Linked DNA regions of Homo sapiens: region 1 is linked to region 2. Evidence: promoter capture Hi-C in 16 types of primary human blood cells and fetal thymus (Javierre and others, 2016). All regions are on one chromosome and are shown on one strand. The core of a region is centred on a gene start or on the middle of the fragment in contact, and the rest is flanking DNA. Distances in the headings are between cores, read along the strand shown. Region 1 has its middle 30 kb from the start of ADRB2. Region 2 holds the start of AFAP1L1 (actin filament associated protein 1 like 1).

The links. The method cuts DNA at HindIII sites, captures the fragments that hold promoters and counts their contacts. A CHiCAGO score of 5 or more calls a contact.
Region 1: a fragment that was not itself captured here is called in contact with the fragment with the promoter of AFAP1L1 in region 2 in 1 of 17 cell types (M1 macrophages); the score reaches 5.1 in M1 macrophages.

What each region holds. Positions count from the first base shown.
Region 1 is chr5:148,795,622-148,798,321 of GRCh38, forward strand. No RefSeq gene overlaps it. Among named protein-coding and RNA genes, the nearest start is that of ADRB2, 30 kb to the right of the region's middle. The HindIII fragment of the contact is 2,541 bases long and covers 1-2,536 here.
Region 2 is chr5:149,270,591-149,273,390 of GRCh38, forward strand. AFAP1L1 (actin filament associated protein 1 like 1) reads left to right here and starts at 1,269. Exons shown (of 19, transcript NM_152406.4): 1 at 1,269-1,394. The coding sequence starts at 1,379. RefSeq lists enhancers at 1,248-1,787, 1,788-2,329, 2,330-2,800. The HindIII fragment of the contact is 5,831 bases long and covers 1-2,800 here.

The sequences.
Region 1 (2,700 bases), core at 16-2,515, 470 kb before region 2:
ACCAGTTTGATAAAATTCATAACAGATAATTACATGAGAAGGTCACTTTTGCTGTCCTGTTTGGAACTGATAAAGTAGAGGTAGAATCCAAACATTCTAGGGATTCTGTAAGATGATTTATCTACAGTGTGGGAAGGAAAAATTATGTTGTCTATTTATATTTATATTGTTTCAAAAATCATAAAGAAATTAATATTCTAATATTTACATGTATTACATGGGTTAAAAGTGACACATTAGTATGATTTATAAATATATATACTTGGCTTGGATGTTCAAAAATGTTATAAGAAGGGATACATGGTAAAGAAAAGCCTGGAGATTGCTAGATTAGGTGACCTGTAGAACGAAATGTCTAGTGCATGCACCAAGGCTGTGGTTGTGGAAATGTAGAGGAAGGAATAAAATCAAAGAACCGATGGGGTGGGAGTTAGAGAAAAGAGTTTTGGGGAGGTGGAGGTGTCATCAGCAGCAACTATGAAAAATGTCTGTGGAGTGGCTATGAAAAATGAATGATGACTGCAAGGCCAGGAGCTCTGGAGATAGGTTTAAGTTTGCTGCAGAAATTGAGAATGAATAGGGGGCCCAAGCACTTATAATGCATTCACATTGCAGCATTAATTGTAGTCCGGTATCTGGGACATAATATCTGTTCAACAGATGTTCTTAAGAAGAACAAATGAGTAAGTGAATGAATTAATGAATGAATAAATTCACAGGGCTTAGCAAAGCAACGTGGAGTAAGAAAATTTGGGCAAAATGAAAATGACCTGACCAAGATTCCACAAAATGTTATTTCCTAAAAACAAACAAAAAAAAGTATAACAGCCCCTGATATTAGTTTGTTTTTGACATTAGACCAAAGTATTTTCAAAAGAGAATTTGTTGGATATATCCATACATATTTTTATGATAGACTTTTTAAAAATGTTATGTTGGCCGGGCATGGTGACTCACGTCTGTAATCCCAGCACTTCGGAAGGCTGAGGCAGGTGGATTGTTTGAGCCCAGAAGTTTGAGACTAGCCTGGGCAACATGGTGAAACCCCATCTCTACAAAAATACAAAAATTAGCCAGGTGTGGTGGTGCACACCTGTAGTCCCAGCTTCTTGGGAGGCTGAGGTGGGAGCATGGCTTGAGCCCGGGAGGCAGATGTTGCAGTGAGTGGAGATTGCACTGCTGCACTCCGGCCTGCATGACAGAGTAAGACTCTGTCTCAAAAAAAAAAAAAAAAAAAAAAAAAAAGAAAAGAAAATGTGTCATACATGTACGTTGTAGAAAAATCAGAAAATACAAAGAAGCAAATAAAAGGGGGGGCGTGTGCAAAATTTATCATACCACTATCCAGAGATAACACAGGTATATATTTATAAAAATGAGCTTATATTTTAAATACTATTTTGTAATTACTACTCAGTCACATTCAGTTTTTTAGTTGCTATTCCTCCATGGCCTCAGGACCCAGCTGGAGGACTCTTGTGTCCATGTGATCAGCCCCATTAGTCATAAGCACTGCCAGGTCTCTTGCCTGTAGCTCCTTGTGAGCAATCTGCCCATCCCTGGCACCTTACTGATAAGTTCTCCCCAGGCCTGGACACTGGAGGCCCCAGTCAAGGCTGGAGTTAGGGTGAGGTAAGTAACATACCTGCCTTGGGGACAAAAATTAATGCAAAAATATCCATGATGAGCAAAATGTCAAAGTTTTAAATAAATATAGGACCTGACAGGGCCAAGATTAGGGTGAGGAGAGGGAGTAGGTCACACGATAAGTGCAGAGTTGGATCCTGTCTTTATTAAAATGTTATTCATTATGGAGGTTATGTATTGGTTTTGGTTTTTAAAATATTACATTAAGATATTATTTATCTTCGCCACCCCTTAGATTTTGCACTTGGCTACAAACTAACCCCACCCTATTCCTGGCCTTTTAGTGTGGATTCTGGTGGGGCAGAGTAGAGTATGGGATCAGCTTCATGGCTGAGAGTAACGACACCTGAGCCCTCGTCTAAGCTGTACTATTAATTACCTATACATTTTTCAGTTATTTCCCCTTTCTGGACCTCCGTTTCCCCAAATGTAAAAATATGTGGGTGAACTCTATGATTTGGAAGCACAAATTAATTGCACAAATTCCATGATGCTAATTAGAATTGTAGCTAGAGATCAGGAGATTTCCTTCCTGATACTACCTCTGCCATTTACTAACTATGTAACCTTGGGTAAATCACTTCCCAATTAGACACAGACAGGCTTCCTAATCTCCACTAGCTGGGGTGAAATCAAAATAGTCTACAAGGTTCTTTTGAGCTTTATATGTTTCTGATTATTTTCCTACTTGAAGCCAAAGAATATCCCAATACCATAAACAGTAGAAGCCAAGTGTCTTGTTATAAGCAACCAGATTTTAACAAACGGACTTAAGAGCAAAGTTAATGATTTGGCAAGATGTTAGGAAGTCTTCTTTCTGAGGAAAGAGAATTCAGTGTCAAGCAGGCAATATCTAACTATTGTTTAGTTTTGAGACACCCTCATTAGAAGCTTGTGCTTATGTATTTCTGTTGAAAAAAGTGTGGATCAAGGGACTGGTGTTTTTCATTAACACGTTGGCAATCCATCTAGTGACCTGGAAAGAGGGCTCATGGTAGCTTAGTGTTAGTGTACTATAAACTTGAAAAAGGCTTATAACTACTTTGGATTCCT
Region 2 (2,800 bases), core at 19-2,518:
TTGCTTGAACCCGGGAGGCAGAGGTTGCAGTGAGCCGAGATCGCGCCACTGCACTCCAGCCTCGGCGACAAAGGGAGACTTTTCAAGAAAAAAAAAAAAGAAGAAAAGAAAATATTCCCAGTCCAGGAAAGTACAGGAGGGTCTTTCCCAGGCCTTTTGTTGCCTCCATACCTCTGTGGTAGCTGTTCCCTGTTCCAGAATGTTCTAAGTAGGGAACAGTGGTCAGCTCAAAGCTGAAAACCATGGCCTGGCCCATGGTGGGAGGAGCAGTGTCTAGGAGAACAATTGGTCCTGGACTTTATGAAGGGTCTTAAAGTCAGACATTTGATATTGTGTATAAATGAGTGAGACCTATTTTCACAGGGATATACTAATAAGGTGAAGAAGTTGACATTCTTCATACAGCTTTAAACTTAGATCCCATTACTGTTCCACACTGGTCATAGCAATATTTTCTACAATCTTGCGAAAAGTACACTTATATTGCACTGTATTTTGTATGCTAAAAGTATTCATTTCCACATTTTTTATCACCCTGTTCTGCATGTTTTCACGTGTTACTCATTTTTCTATTCTTTTTCTGAATTCTCCCAGATCCTCGTTATGTTTTCACGTTTTAGTACACAAGGAACCTCAAAAGTTGAAAGTGTCCCAAGCCCTTGCCCACCTTTCAGCAAGCCTCTCTTTCTCCCTTTCCCAGGTGCTTTTCTTTCTGAAGATCTTTGTTATTATTTAACTCCTCTTTCGCAACACCACTGACATTGCACCGGCATCGCCGCGGGCCCACTGTCTGGCTTAGAAGGTGCTCAAGAAAGACCCGCGGCGAATGGAGAAGACAAGCCCAAAGCCAGGAAATGGGTGGCGGCTGCAGGGAAGGGGGTTTTGATTCCCTAGGATAAAAACGCGCTCCAACAGTCTCCGCATTCCGGCATGGAGCCGGCTGAGGGGTGCGGTGGTAAGACCCCATCGCTAGCGGAGTGCAAGCAAAGCCGCACACCTCCTGGGTCCGGGCTGGGGCAGGCCGCGCGGGCGCGGGAACGAACGCGTGCGGACGGGGAAAAGGGTCCTCCAAGCCCAAGTGGGAGCGCCGCGGAGGGCGAGCGAGCGGCAGGGCGCGGCGGGGCGTGTGCGGCACCACGGGACAGCGGGCTGCGGCCCAGGGGGCGAGGCGTGCTCGGGTCTATTCCGGGAGCGGCTCTGAGGGGCGGGCGCGGGCGCGGGCGGGGCGGGGGCTGCCGGCGAGCATCCTGTCTGGGGGAGGGGACCGCAGAGAGCGCCGGCCGCTGGGCTGGCCTGAGAGCGCAGCGCGCCGGCCGCTACCAGCCGCGCCGGAGCCCCTGCGCCCTGCGGCCCGCTCCCCGGGGACCGGGCCGGCGCCATGGACCGAGGCCAGGGTAAGAGGGGCCGCGACGCCCGCACTTGTTGCGGCGCCGGGCGGGAAAGGGAGACTGGACGATCTGAAGCCGGAGAGGAGGAGGGAGAGAGGCGGGCGGTGGGGCGGGGGCTGAGGAACGCTCGGAGGGGACTGGGAGACGCGGCGCTTATGCAAAGGTGCCTTCGGCTGCCGGGACAACCCGGTGCGTGTCAACGCCCGTGTCCTGGGGCCAACTCGCCTCTCGTGTGTGAAATCAGAGTTTTCATAGGCTAACGATTTGTAACTTCATAAAAGATCCCCCTCTAGTTTCCGGAGGACAGCGAGCTCCTCCCACCTCATTCCACTCTAAAGGGGAAAACAAGGTGTACAGGTTCAACTCCCGAAACACCCGCTGTGGGCAGCCCCTAGGGAGAAGCTCTAGGGGACCGAAGTTTGCAGCTGCCTAGGGCATTGCGAGAAGGAGGAGCGCCGTGAGCAGGCGCGCGTGTGCATGCATGTGTGCGCCAGGGAGGGAGGAGGCGGGGGTGGTTCTATCCCGCACCAGCTGTGTCCTCGGCCCAGCCCTTCTCTCTGGACCAGCGACAAAGTTGGACTAGATGGTCTCCAAGGCACCTTGCCGACCCTTTTCCAGTGTATTTGGTAGACGTTTCACAGAAGTGGAGGGGACTTACTGAAATTGAGATTGACATAAGCCGAGAGGGCAGCATTCGTAGGGGGCTAGCGCACATTTTTTTCTGTTTGTTTTGTTTTGTTTGAGACGGAGTTTCGCTCTTGTTGCCCAGGCTGGAGTGAAGTGGCGCGATCTTGGCTCACTGCAACCTCCGCCTCCCGGGTTCAAGCGATTCTCCTACCTCAGCCTCCCGAATAGCTGGGATTAGAGGCATGCGCCACCACACCCGGCTAATTTTTGTATTTTTAACAGAGACGGGGTTTCACCATATTGGCCAGGCTGGTCTGGAGCTCCTGACCTCAGGTGATCAGCCGGCCCCGGCCTCTCAAAGTGCTGGGATTACGGGCGTGAGCCACCGCGCCCGGCAGCGCACATTTTAAGTAAAGGTCTAGACATGGCCTTTGGCAATGGCCAGATGGGCATGTGTGTGTCTGTAAAGAAGTGGCCTGCTTGGACATGTGAACAGTGTCAGAGGCTGGGAATCAGAACCCCAGGGTTTCAGTCTGCACCTCTGGGATCCAAAGAGATCACAGGTGTGACGGCACTAGATAAACTAGTGAGTGCTGTGCCAACAGGCGAAGTGTTGTTGTTGTTGCTGTTATTAATAATGGAAAATTCATTCCCCTCCCCACGATAATCTCACACCTCTCCCCCATCTGCCTGTTTGCTGTGCTGAGCCCCCGAAGGGAGGAAAAAAAGAAGGGAACAGGGGCATGGGAGCAATTAGCAGGCACTGGGGCAGGGATGAGCCGGGA